Linked DNA regions of Homo sapiens: region 1 is linked to region 2. Evidence: promoter capture Hi-C in 16 types of primary human blood cells and fetal thymus (Javierre and others, 2016). All regions are on one chromosome and are shown on one strand. The core of a region is centred on a gene start or on the middle of the fragment in contact, and the rest is flanking DNA. Distances in the headings are between cores, read along the strand shown. Region 1 overlaps LINC02046 (long intergenic non-protein coding RNA 2046). Region 2 holds the start of AGTR1 (angiotensin II receptor type 1).

Region 1 (7,415 bases), core at 1,601-4,100, 320 kb before region 2:
GTCTCAAAAAAAATAAAATTAAAATTTGTCCCTCAGTCACACTAGCCACATTTCAATTGCTCTATAGCCACATGTGACCAGTGATTACCGTATTGGATAGTTCAGAAAACATTTTTATCATCACAGAAAGTTTCATAGGACAATAACTCTTCTAGATAGTTTGGGGTCACAAAAAAGGCTGAGGGCAGTACATTATAGCCAAAGAGCTGAAGATATGCTAGAGGCGATGAAACATGAGCAAAAACCATTTTAATACAAAACAAGTTTTAATTTTACAAATCAAGTGCCACAAGAACACTAGTGACCACAGAAGACTGTTCGTTAAGATTTGAGTTTAATTTTGAAGAATGAACAAGATATTTACATTTGTTGCATGGCTTTAAGTTTCTCTTTATGTAAAAGATAAAATTTCTAGGGCAGCAATTATAGGAAAGTGAAGATTTTTAATGCTATTCGACTAATGTTTCTTCTTACTTTATAAGTGTTGTGTCTTTACTAGAAAAATCTAAGGGGATTTTACTTTCATCTTAAGATTTTTAGATCTTTCATCGTTCCTTAACAATTATTTGAAGACTCCAGAAATAATGCACTTCTAAATTATTTTAAATTCAAAATTGCTTCATTGAGATTTGGTACTTAACCTAGTTCATGTTAAGAAGCAATGAATATGATGTGTTAAATGCAAAAACAATGTGGTATCAGTGCTATGAATTTAGTTTATAAATTCCTTCCTGAGATAAAAGCATTCATATTAAAAATACAAAAAAGTATTTTTTGTTTTGTCCGATTCATCACCTCTCTACATCATTTTCTCTATCTTCCTAGGAACACAAACACAGACACTACATAAGGCTTAGAGCGTAAAATGGTAGGAAGCTATGACACTTGCCTGTTGTACTCAAGAGCATTACTGACAGGCTCTCACTTAATACGATGGAAAGAACCTCCCTTAGGTGTCCCAAGGAGGTGTAATAACTTACTAACACAAGGTGGTGCTCTGTTCTTATGAAACAGCCTGTCTTTGCTTTGGTTCTAGGAAGCAGAGGTCAAACATTCTTACAGCTTGACCATTTTTCTTGAAGGTTTTAAAAACTGTTAATGTCTCATTCTCACTTAAAAACCTCATCCAAACCATTTAAAAATCATTCTTAGAAAGCTGTCCTAATCATAATTCCAACCACTCAGGGAGGATCCAATTTATCTCATTGTTCTCAACAGTAATTTTGATGGCAGTAGGCCTTGGATCGCTCACTGATTGCTTCTTTTCATTTTTCTCTGTTTGTGATCCTTTTGATCAGATAGTTCTTACACTTTTTTTGGGGTTGTCTCAAGCCTATTGTTTCTGTAAACTGATCAGACTTTTTCCAGACAAAACTGCCAGATTGACCTCCAAATAAATGATTAGAACAACTTTGACTCTCCTTCAGCTAACCAGTCTATTATTATTTATTTATTTCATTTTGCTTCCTACGTATGAACATATATAATATATCGTTGTATAGTTATATTAATATGTTTACCTGTTGGTAAATCTCTAATTTCATCCTTCCTGTAGAAAAACCTTGACAATGTAATTTGAAAATGTGACATGCAGTTAACCACATTTAAATAATCCTCCTTATGACTGAACAGGAAACAGGCCAATGCCATATTCCATTTAATGATATTTTTAAGGGAAGAATAACTATAGCTTCAAATATGGATATATATGTACACATATATGTGCATCTACATATAACACAAAAATATACAAATTATAAATATCTATAAATATTCCTGGAAAGAGCTAAAGGCAGGATTCTAGCATTACATAATTTCACATATGCCAAATCCTCTAATCAAATGGAATCTGATTATTTATGCTGCCAGGTAGTTATATATTTCTTTCTAATACTTCTCAAGGAAACTTTCCATAGCTGTCTTAAATTTCTCAAGGACATTGATCTCAAAATAATCTCAACCTCTATTCTTCTATTCTGAATCTTATGAAAGCATTTATCTTGTTTATAAATAGCTAAAAACTTCTTAAGAAATCAGACTGGAAGAGGTTGCATATATTTCAAACATTTTAAAATCACAAAACAAAACCAGTAAGTCAAGAAAATAGACAAGAAAAGATTCCATTTGTTTTAAAGTGTGTTCTAAAATCATATCACTAATGAAAGTCTGCTGATGTCATGACAATGTCATAGCTTCAGCTCTTCAAAGAACATGTTGTCTGGTTACTATAGCATTGCTATATTTGGATTAATTAGAAACGGAAACGTGGATAGCATTAGCTTTGAAATTAAATGAGCCCCCTAACGGGGAAGCTAATTACTGAATTCATTCTGAAGATCTGTTTTACTCGTGAAAATTTAGGTTATTAAATTGAACAATATGTGCTCAGGACTAGAAATGGAAATCAGGGCATCCTCGGACGGAGCACAGGGGAACCAGTGGCTCTTATGGAGCCAGACCTGATATTAGTCTTTTGTTAGAGAGGATTATTATTGTTAATATTGTCACCTTTATGACAAAGGTTCTAATATGAAGAGTACTTGGAATTCTTAAAAAGCTTCCATTAGTCCATTCAATACCCTACTCTGACTTCCATTAATGTATCTTCCCTACTGTGTGATTAGGAAGCTCCACCGGAAGCCATAATCTGGATGCATTGGGGAAGATTTAGGGAGGAAACTTTTCCATAAGCTTGAAAGACAAAAATGGCATTTATCTGGGTTTCAAATGTTTCTTCTCCTTGAGGTTTCGTTTTCTGAATTAAAGTTTGAAGTGAACATACTATATATTCACAGTATTGTGCTTTTCAAATGTCCCCCTCACACAAACATACATACAAACACAGCAAAGATAGCAGGAGGCAGGTTATGGTCAGAGAAAATTCAGCTCCCTTTGTTATGCTATTTAAGTAATCGTTAAGTACATTACTAATATCCATGGCCATTTTTAAAACCAAGTAGCAATAACTAGTTTATCTCACTAAAGCACCAAGATCCTTAGGAACCAGAAAGAAGCTTTTCAGCATCACATCCAATATGCCCCTAATACTTAGTAAAGGCTGATATGATGATGCAGATCTTTTGATCACTTTTGGGATTAAGATCCAAGTTATGTTACTAAATCCCAATTCAATAAGGCAGTGCGGAAGATGCTGACCTAGCAGGGTCTTTATAACTGAAAGCCAGTGTTTGGTTTTATTGACAGAACTTTGTGCTAAAGACATGGAGTTTCCCAGCTACTTCAGGGTTATCCCAGTTACCTGTTCTCTCTCCACCTCCCACAGACTATATTGTGATAATCTCTAGAATTATCCCCAAAAGGAAGAAATAAAACATCTGCTTGGTGTATTCCTTATCAATCTTTATTCTATACTTCTCTTTCTGGATTCTCCATGATTCAGAGCACCTCCAGCCATATTCCAGCTGTGTGGTGCAAAGGACCCAGGCATTGTTTTAAAAATTCTTGAATCATAATGAACTAATAAGGTCCTCAATATAGCATATTTCTCTCATTGTTTAGGTGAGTTAAATTATTTGTAAGTTACAAAAGCCATGCATCTTTCTTGTTTTACTCCAAACATCATATTGGCACTTCATAATAGAAAAATTGAAAGTTGGCTATGTGGTAATATACTTTTTATCATAGACTTGTGTAATACTGTATTAATATATAACAAGTCCATGTAACATCTTTATTTTGTCTAAGAAATAAGTCTAGAGAAATGAGTGATTTATTTTTATAGAAACTGCATCCAAGAACTGCAGAGTTTTCAGCCCCAGAAACAAGAAAACAAGAACCTTATCAAGATATGGGTGCTGTAATGGGCTAGATTTTTCTTTAAAAAGAAAGAAAAAAGGAATAGGGAAGGTGTACGCAGTCTTGCAAATGAGGCAAGAACTGTTCTACAGAGTCAGGAGAGAGTCGAAATAAGGATGCCTGATGCTGAGTTGCAGAATCATTAGACTGTTACTCCTTATCTTCTTTCTGCCTGTGAATAATTTCAATGACCAGTACGTAGTAATGACATTGCGTATGTATACATGATAATATATTATGCAGTAATTTAAAATATGTTGGAAGTGTTGTGCCATTGGAAAAATTGCTGAAGGGGTAATGTTATAAAAAAGGCTTAGTGCAAGAAAATAAGATAGGTGATATAATATCAACTATATGAAACGTTTAGATAAGTAACAAAACTAGAAGAAAATATGTCAAAATGTTAAGAGAGGTTAGGATTTTAGGTAGTAACTTAAGGCCCTATATGTCTGGCCACCTGTAATTCTCTGAGATCATCTTTTACTATTGCTTCACTCCCCATCCCCCACAACAGTATCCTGCTCCAGCCACAGTACTGTTCTTCTTCTTATTGTTATTAAGTTCTGCGGTACATGTGCAAAACGTGCAGTTTTGTTCCATAGGTATACACGTGCCATGGTGGTTTGCTGCACCCATCAACCTGTCATCTACACTAGGTATTTCTCCTAATGTTATCCCTCCCCCAGCTCCCCACCATCTGACAGGCCCCGGTGTGTGATGTTCCCCTCCCTATGTCCATGTGTTCTCATTGTTCAACTCCCACTTATAAGTGAGAAGATGTGGTGCTTGGTTTTCTGTTCTTGTAATAGTTTGCTGAGAATGATGGTTTCCAGCTTCATCCACGTCCCTGCAAAAGACATGAACTCATTCTTTTTTATGGCTGCATAGTATTCCATGGTGTATATGTGCCATGTTTTCTTTATCCAATCTATTATTAATGAGCATTTGGGTTGGTTCCAAGTCTTTGCTATTATCAATAGTGCCACAATAAATGCTATATAAAATTACATCCACACTTTATTTTTCTCCATAGCTGTTACCATTACCTGACATAACTTACCAACGTAGGGATTGCTTTTTGCTAGTATTTCCCAAGAAAACAGAATGATTGCTTAGAAAGGGAGAGAAGAGGAAGCTGAGGGTGTATGTTAGAAAGTGATGGAATTTAGGCTAATAAGAAAGGAAAGAAGAATATTTGGGAGAGGCAGAGATGTCAGGCAGAACAATCACTGGATTATACATCACAAAAATTTTGAGGATCAGGGAACCAGGATAAATAAGCCTGGAAAAATAAGAAGTACTAGTCAAGAATGTTGTTGTTTGTTTTGTTTTGTTTTGTTTGCTTTGGAAGTGAGAATTGTGGAGGGATTGCAACTACTGTCTGGTGTCATTTCCTTACCTTTATAGACACCCTGCCTAATGGGTTTTGGACTGAATTATTCAGGAGGGGAAAAGAAAAAAAGGGGTAGAGGATATTCCACTCTTACTATTTTGATGTATATAATTAGCAGGCTCTGTCTAGATAAGTATGCACCTATAGTAACTTCCTTTTGAAAAAATAAAAATCAGATCTAATGGAACATTTGCAAACTGCTTTTCTTGCACTCAGTAATGTGTCATGGACATTATTTCATGTTAAAAAATATAGATATATATTTTTAAAACTATATAATATTTCACTACTTGTAGAGACCATAATATAGTTAACCAGTAACTGATTGTTGAGCATTCATATTGTTTTTCTCACACTTTAATAGACAAAGTAAAATCTGTATATACTTGATTTCTATTTTGCATACTTGTTGCTATGGGTTTGAATATATTACCTCCAAAATCAGGTGTTGCCAATGTGAAAGTATTAAGAGGTAGAGTCTGTAAGAGGTGATTAGGTCATGAGGGTTCGTCCCTCATGAATGGGATTAAGACCCTTTTAAAGGATCTTTGCAGAGTGCTTGGTAGCTTACCCTTCCACCTTCCACCAGATGAGGACACAATGTTTCTTCCATCTGGAGAATGCAACTCTCACCAGTCGAACCTGCCACCATCTTGATCTTACACTTCCCAGCATCCAGAACTGTGAGAAATGAATTTTTGTTTTTTATAAACTACCCAGTTTGTGACAGTCTGTTATAATAGCACAAAACAGACTAAGACACATGTTTACATCCTTTGGGTAAACTTTTAGGAGTGGAATTATATAGCAAAAGACCATTAGATTTTAAATGTTGATATTAATTTACTGAACAAGCATTTATTAAGAATTTGCAATGTTTCTCAGGCACTATTGTAGTCTTTTTGAATATGGCAATAATCAAAACAGAAAAGAATGGCAGCTTTTATGAAGCTAATGTACTGGTACAAATATAGTTGAGATGATTCAATCAACTTATATTTCCACCAACACTGTATCAAAGTATCCATTTCCTCTTATCTTCACTAACTTCACTGGCTATTTCAAAACTTTAATACTTTTGGCTAATCAATTTTTTTCTTATTTTAATTGTTTCAATAATTTGCACTATTTGATTACTAGAAAAGTTAGACATGTGATAGGCTTATTAGTCATTGTATTTCTACTTCTACATTACATTTTTGTGCTGTTTGCTCTTTTTTTCCCTATTTGGTTATTTTTTCCTTATTTGATTTACAAAAGGTTTTCAAATGAAAAGAAATATAAACTTCTTAGTAGAGAATAATTGTTCAGGCTGCCGAAAAAATAAATATCCTTTCTAATATGAGAGAATTCCATGCTGCCTCCCACTCAGGAAGCCAAATAAGACATGCCATTTTCTCTCTCCAACCTAGTATAGCAAGTACATTGGAGTCAAATGCCCTAAGGATGGCCAATCAGATGCTTCTGTGGGGGATATTGAATCTAGAGGAGGTAATTCAATACAGAGAGTCTTTTAGAAATAATTTGAGATACCTGTGTTAAATAAAAAGCCCCAAAGCTTCCCCATGAACTCTTAGTGAAAATATGCCATTTTGGTACAGTGCCTTTGCTGTACTTGTTCCATCTTGCTTCTAATTAAACTTGCTTCTCAAGCCTTCCTGTTGGTTCTGTGAGCAACTCCCAAAACAACCTTTAGGCTAATGTTAACCAGTAATTTTCTGTTGTTTTGTAACTAGCAACATTATTAGAATAGGTGTTTCATAAATATATATTTCCAGCATAATTTTTCTAATATTTTGTAGTGTATTTGCCAAACACAATGTATTAATTTGTACTTAATCAGGTATATCAATATTTTACTCTGTGTATTCTACCATTGACATGTGCTTAGAGGGCTTCTGAATATCAAAATTATAAAAATATTCATCTATTATATTTTCTAGTATTTAAATTACATCATTAATATATGTGGAATTTATGCTTATACAAGGCATAAGAGCTTTATTTGTTTTCTTTATTTTGGTTCTCAAATATGTATCCAATTGCCTCTCACTTTTTTTTTTTTTTTTGTATAACCAGAACCTTGCTCAGTGATTCAAAAACTACTCTTGTCAGATATTTAATTCTTCTGCTAATTTGTAGAGACTTTGTTCTTTTTAATTGATCTGTCCATTCTTGGATTCTCATTACAGTTTCAATCAATCTA
Region 2 (6,969 bases), core at 2,049-4,548:
CTGGCTAATAATGTTGAGTTTTTTTATGTGTTTGTCTACCTTCTTTAGAGAAATGTATATTAAGATCCTTTGACCATTTTTAATGGTGTTTTTATTATCTTTGTGTGTGCTTTATTATCTTTATATGTTCTATACACAAGTCCTTATCAGGTATATAATTTGCAAATATCTTTGCACATTCTTGGCTTTTTCTTTTCACTTTCTTGATACCCTTGGAAGTATAGATGCTGTTAATATTGATGAAATCAAATTAATTTACCTACTTTTTCTTGTATTTCTTATGCTTTTGGAGTTGTATCTAAGATGGCTTTGCATAACCCAAGGTAACAAAGGTTTACTCCTACGTTTTCTATTTAGTTTTATAATTTTTCTCTTAAGCTTGGGTCTATGATCCATTTTGACTTAATTTTTACATGTGGTATTATAAGGAGTCCAACTTCATTCTTCTGCATGCAGATATCCAATTATTCCAGTACCATTTGTAATAAAGATTACTCATTCTGCATTTTTTCAACCCTTTTCAAAATCTAGTGGCTCATAAATGTAAGGGTTTAGTTTGTGGACACAATTCTGTTCCATTGATCTTTCTATCTATTGCTATGCCAGTACCACATTGTCTTGTTTATTGTAATTTTGCAGTAAATTTTGAAATTGGTAAGTTTGTTCTTTTTCAGAATTGTCTTGACTATTCTGGGCCCCTCGCACTGCTACATGTTTTTAGGATAACTCCATTCATTTCTGCAATAAAAGCTTGCTGGGTTTTGATAGAGATTTTGTTTAACCTGTAGATCATTTGAAGATTAATGCCATTGTAACGATATTAAATCTTTCAATCCAAGAACATGGAATGTCATTCCATTTATTTAGGTCTACCTTATTTCAACAATTCTTTTTGTTTGTTTTCAGACTACAAGTTTTAGATCCTTTTGTTAAATTTATTTCTTAGGGTTTTTTTTGTTTTGTTTTGTTTTGTTGGTTGGTTGGTTTGTTTTGAGATGGAGTCTCACTCTGTCACCCAGGCTGGAGTGCAGTGGCACAATCTCAGCTCACAGCAACCTCTACCTCCTGGGTTCAAGCGATTCTTCTGCCTCAGCCTCCTCCTCCTGAGTAGCTGGAACTACAGGCATGCACCACCACGCCTGGCTTTTTTTTTTTTTTTTTCTTTTGCATTTTTAGTAGAGACAGGGTTTCACGATGTTGGCCAGCCTGGTCTCGAATCCCTGACCTTGTGATTCACCCACCTCGGCCTCCCAAAGTGCTGAGATTACAGGAGTGAGCCACTACACCAGGTCATTTCTTAGTATTTTTACTCTTTTGATCTATAGTAAGTAAAATTGTTTTTATCTTTGAATTTTTAAATTTTTAACACAGTTCAAATCAGTGTGTCTGATTTCATCTCCTTCTCTAACAAACCAGGGTGCCAGAACTGCTTCAGTTTCTCTGCCTTCTCTTTGTCTATGATGACTAATGTATGAAGGTATCTGCTGCATCAAACTTTAAACTTCACATTATCCTTATTTCTCTTGACCTTGACAGATCTGGCATCTTTTCACCTGGCTGTAAGCAGAAAGTCCTTGATCTCCTTAACTTTTTGAGGCATGGCAGCATGTGAGGCAGGGAGAGGACACAGACCCACACAGCAAGTGGTGAGAAGCCAACAGTGGAATTGTTTTCTTAATTCCATTTGTTGATTGTTTATTGCTAGTGTATAGAAATACAACTGATTTTTGTATATTGATCTTGTATTCTAAAAACTTGCTCAACTTGTTTCTTAGTTCTAATAGTTAATTAATTGATTCCTTAGGGCTTTTTAATACAAGATCATGTCATCTACAAATAGAAATTGTTTTACTTTCTTTCTAATCTGGATGCCATTTATCTTTTTTTCTTGTCCAATTGCCCTCACTAGAACCTTTAGTACAAAGTTAAATAGAAATGGGAAGACTAGACATTTTGTCTTGTTCCTGATCTTAGACATAAAAACGTTGTCTTCCGTTATTATGTGTGATATTAGTTAAGTTTTTCATAAATAAACTTCACAGTTTGAGGAAGTTCCTATTCCTAGTTTGTTGAGTGTTAGCATGAAAAAGTGTTGAATTTTGTCCAATAGTTTTTAAAAATTTTTTTAGACAATCATGTAGGCTTTGTCCATTTTTTACTTCTTTAAATTTATTTTTATTGATACACAATAGATGTACACTTTTTAGGTACATGCAATAATTTAATGCCCCTCACTATAAATTCGGAGCTGCCTCCTCGCCGATGATTCCAGCGCCTGACAGCCAGGACCCCAGGCAGCAGCGAGTGACAGGACTTTTTAGGTACATGCAATAATTTAATGCATTCATATAAAGATCAAATCAGTGCAATTGGCATATCCATCACCTTAAATATTTGTCTTTTCTTCATGCTAGAAACATTCAAGTTATTTTCTCCTAGCTACTCTGAAATATACAATAGATTACTGTAAACTACAGTCACCCTACTCACCTATCTAACATTAATTGATTTTTGGTAAACTAATCTAATCTTGCTTTCTGGCATCAACCTCACTTGACCATGGTGTATAGTCCCTTTCATATGTTATTGGATTCAATTTGCCTACATTTTGTTGAGAATTTTTATCTATACTCTTAAGAAATATTGATCTGTAGTCTCGTGATGTCTTTATCTGGTTTTGTTATCAGGGTGATACTGGCCTCATAGCATGAGTTGGGAGATCATCCTTACTCTTCTATTTTTTGGAAGAGTTTGTGAAGAATTGATATTATTTCTTCTTTAAATATTTATTGGGTTTTTAAAATACATTTTTAAAATGCAACTTGGGTAGCATGTCCAATAGGAACAAATGAGTGTCCACCCTTGAATTTCATAACCCTGGAATTAATCCATGTAATCTATGATCCACAACTGTATTACCAAAGTTCGAGTTACTCATAGGAAAGAGAAAGAAGTTCTCTAATTCGTCCTTAAAAGTTTTCCAAGTTCAGAAAAAAAAAATGTTGAAGAACACGAATCTCCGCAGGAAATGATACTCCTGTACCCCCAGCTCGCTCTCCCTCACGACCCCTCGCTAGGCGGGGTTCGGGACCAGGTGAACGCTGATCTGATAGTTGACACGGGACGACTGTGGCATCATCCTTGCTGCCGTCAATATCCCGAGAGGGAGGAGGTTGGGCCGGGAGGGTCTCCCGGGGCGGGGCGGAGGAGGAGGGAATGCAAAACAGAGCCTCGTCCCCGGAACCCAAGAAGCAGCAACGCCCCTCACTATAAATTCGGAGCTGCCTCCTCGCCAATGATTCCAGCGCCTGACAGCCAGGACCCCAGGCAGCAGCGAGTGACAGGACGTCTGGACCGGCGCGCCGCTAGCAGCTCTGCCGGGCCGCGGCGGTGATCGATGGGGAGCGGCTGGAGCGGACCCAGCGAGTGAGGGCGCACAGCCGGGACGCCGAGGCGGCGGGCGGGAGACCCGCACCAGCGCAGCCGGCCCTCGGCGGGACGTGACGCAGCGCCCGGGGCGCGGGTGAGTCCGCGCGGACCGCCAGGCATGCTTGGGGGACTTCAAGGGCGGGGTGCTAAGTTTCATGTCACGGTGTCCTAACTGCTGGCTCTATACTGGGAAGCTCTCGGGGACCAAGGAAAGAGCGACCGTAGTTCTGGTCAGCGCCTGCCCCTGGAGCTGGCCACACTTTCCCAAATCAGGTGAGGGGCTTCTGGAATGGGAGGGAACAAGGTAGGTTTGTTTGCCACGTGCCTCGAAATTCTCAATCCATTTTAACCAAACTCTTCCGAGTGCAAGGAAGAAATCTACAGAAATAAGATGCAATTCAATAAACTTTCTTCCTGAGGCTTTTAGTTAACTCTTGTATTTTAGCCATCATCTGAGCGGGAAGCCGGTATGACTCTGCAAGGCGTTCGTTTAAAAGTTGTGCTACTTTTGAGGTGAAGTTAAGAGTGTCTCCATCCACGCCCTCTGCTTCCCAGTCAATGTCCCTGCACTGCTCACGTCCCTTTAGCTCTCTCCCTGCAAACCATAGCGGTGGGTCCTAGACACGGGACATCGCTCCAACCTTGGCCAAACTCTCCCACCCTCAGGGTTCCCAGATGTCCTTTGAATAATCAAACTGAGGAAGGAGAAGCAAGATGTCTCCACACCCCAATCCCTACAGCCTTAGCCAATGCATGTGTGTAACTGAGACAGAATTTTAGCAAAAGGTCTCCTGCTTCCAGGACTAAACAGAGCCTCTGGCAGGCCACTGCCCGACACCCAACTCCATCCTCCAATTTTCTTAAATGTCCAGGTAAACATCTCCATAGTGCCAGCCTGCTATAGTCTCCCGAAGACCTCAGCAATTCTTCCCCAAAGCGTCTCCTTCTGCACCGTTTTTTTCTTTGGGCAACCATTTGTGACCTGGCTATTGAGCCCACCTGGGCCTCTTCTCTTTGTTTGCTGATAGCCTCGTTAAGTATTAAAAACCTACTCCCCCCCTTCAGGAGCCCTCTTTTAATGAAAGTTTGGGTACTGGGATCAGATTTGGGACTTGGCTACATTTATTTCCTGTGTCATTCTGAGAAGAGAAAGTAATAGAGGCAAGAAATTTGGCACCCTATTGATCTATTTTATTACTTTGTTGAGCAACTTGTGCTTCCCGCTGAAGATGCTGCATCCCAACATGATTCTCTTATTATTAGTTACCACCTGAGGGTTTTGGATCTCCAGGTGTTTATTTCACATAGCATATGCTTTAACCCCCTTATAAGTCTTCTCTAAGGAAGAAACTGCCATACTTCCCTTGTCTTCTCCGGTGTTTCCCTAGCTATAAAGGCCCCACCTGCATAACCTGTCCTCAGGCTGTGATGTATTCCCGGGTGCCCTGGTACCTTCTCCTTCCTCTCCACCACCCTTCCTGACAGTGCAGGGGCAGGAAAGCATGGGGAGAAGGGAAATGGAGACTCCCACTTAACTTGCTGTGTGATAGTAAGAGCATTATTTCACAACTCTGAACCTCAAGTCTCTGCCCATAAGGTTCCCTCCAGTGATATAATTCCTTAATTTCTTTTGTTTTGGTTATTGCTTTAAAATAAAAGTCTAAGCTTAAGGCTAGGTTATAGAAACTGCCCATCATAATTGCTAGGTCTCAACATTTGCTTAAGTTTTGTGATTCTTAGTTTCAAGTCTGTTACCCACTCTCTCTCCCCGCCACCTTTTTTCCCCCTGACTTCATTGTTCTTTGTTCCCATCCTGAGGCCTTGATTTCTGGTTCTGCTCTTCTTTGACCTTAAACTGAATCAACTCTTCCATCATCCAACTCAGAATAAAATTGGTTTTCTTCCACCGGTTCCACTGATGCCAATGGAAGACTTGTCTTCCTTGCGATTTGCAAAATGTCTTTCAGTCACAGGTGCTGCGGCAATGCTGCTGTCCCACAGCATTCTAAGCTTCAGTCTTTCTCTCTCTTATCGTGGGTCAGTATTCAGAAAAGGGCAGATTTGTGGGTTGTTCAGGTTTCTCACTTTTCTTTTTCTTCTTTCTAGTTTGGGATCAGAGTTGTGTGAGTATTTGTGTATATAATTTTGTTTTGGTTTTTTGTTCCTGCTGCTACTTACGACTGCTGTTATTATTTCAATTATGACTAATTAATACTAATGACTAATTTTCCCCTATGCTAGAGGGAAAATAAGGAAGAAAAGTTTACTCTGCTACTTACCCAAAGCCCAGGTAAAATGCTTAGCTGAGAAGGAATTTAAAACTCATAGTTTAAATGCATGATGCATGTCTGCTGTCATTTTATCTGTGCTGCCACAGTGTCCTTTCAAGCAGATAACTGAGAGTTGCTGTATTTTGCTTTCGAATTTGTTACAGGGACAAAAATAGTGACCCCTCACATTTAGGTGTTTTGGCTGCTTAATGCGAGCTCCTGCCCTCTAGCCGCATGCTTATTAGTTTACCTAGCCCTTTTTCTGGTCAGTCATGACTGGAGAATGCCAAAGAGTCTCCCAAGTAGGCTACCAAATTAAGAATTGTGTTTAGAAGTTTGAAGTCAGTCCAAGTGTTGTAAAGATTAAAACGTTGTTTTGAAGATATGCTGTGTCAATAAACAAATATGGAGCCAGAGCAACACAATGTGACCAAGTGTCCAAGCCCAGCTTAGGAACACTTTTCTCCCATGTTATCTAGCAAACTGACAAATCAGCTTTCCAACACGTGATGATTGGAAAATGCTATTAGTTTCCTTCAAAATTCTCCTAATGTTTCTTTTTCAAAATTGCCTAAGATCATTGGATTATGTGGTTTGTGTTTCTTTTCACTGTAGCTGCTTGTTAAAGCAGTATACTCAATCTCTGATAAGCAACAGTAAATTTGATCGATTTGTATCCTAAATTTAGCTATCACTTTACATTTTGTTTTATTCATAATATGAACTTTAGCTTCTAAAAATCAACTTTTTAATAGCTTAATATATAAAGCCATCTTAAATCAAGGAATATCTATAGGGACTTAAGGTAATATTCAACTAAATTGGCAAGTGACTACCATTATCCTATTAAAGCTCTAAAATGCAATATTTCAATCACAGAAAAAAAATCTTATAATTTAAAGAACTATAAATTGCCAGATGTTTCCCTAGTTATTACGTTAGTGACAAATTAGACAACTGGAAATAGAAAACAGAGTATATGTTTGGAACAGTCATAAAAGGACTAGTGACTATTGCTGCTAGCTGTGGTTGTATTAACATTAAAATATTTGCTATGGGATTTTTCTTCTTATCAAAGCAGATGCTCAGATGAGGAAAAACTTTCTTGCATATGAAAATCAAAATTGTCTTCCAAAATATTTAAGTAACAAAAAATTCATTATGTAGTATAAATGCTGTATGATTACATTATTCTTATAGTTAATTTAGAAGGGTTTGAATTTGTTTTTGTTTTGTTTGTGTTTGTTTCTTCGATAGGTGCATTCTCTAA

The links. The method cuts DNA at HindIII sites, captures the fragments that hold promoters and counts their contacts. A CHiCAGO score of 5 or more calls a contact.
Region 1: a contact is called between a fragment that was not itself captured here and the fragment with the promoter of AGTR1 in region 2, in 1 of 17 cell types (megakaryocytes). The highest score is 7.8, in megakaryocytes.

What each region holds. Positions count from the first base shown.
Region 1 is chr3:148,378,980-148,386,394 of GRCh38, forward strand. The region is part of intron 4 of LINC02046 (long intergenic non-protein coding RNA 2046); the gene reads left to right. It overlaps LOC105374147 (a long non-coding RNA gene), which reads right to left. Exons shown (of 4, transcript XR_924566.2): 4 at 4,863-5,890. Among named protein-coding and RNA genes, the nearest start is that of LINC02046, 100 kb to the left of the region's middle. The HindIII fragment of the contact is 323 bases long and covers 2,690-3,012 here.
Region 2 is chr3:148,694,605-148,701,573 of GRCh38, forward strand. It overlaps AGTR1 (angiotensin II receptor type 1), which reads left to right and starts at 3,299. Exons shown (of 3, transcript NM_000685.5): 1 at 3,299-3,523. It also overlaps the pseudogene RPL38P1. The HindIII fragment of the contact is 4,344 bases long and covers 749-5,092 here.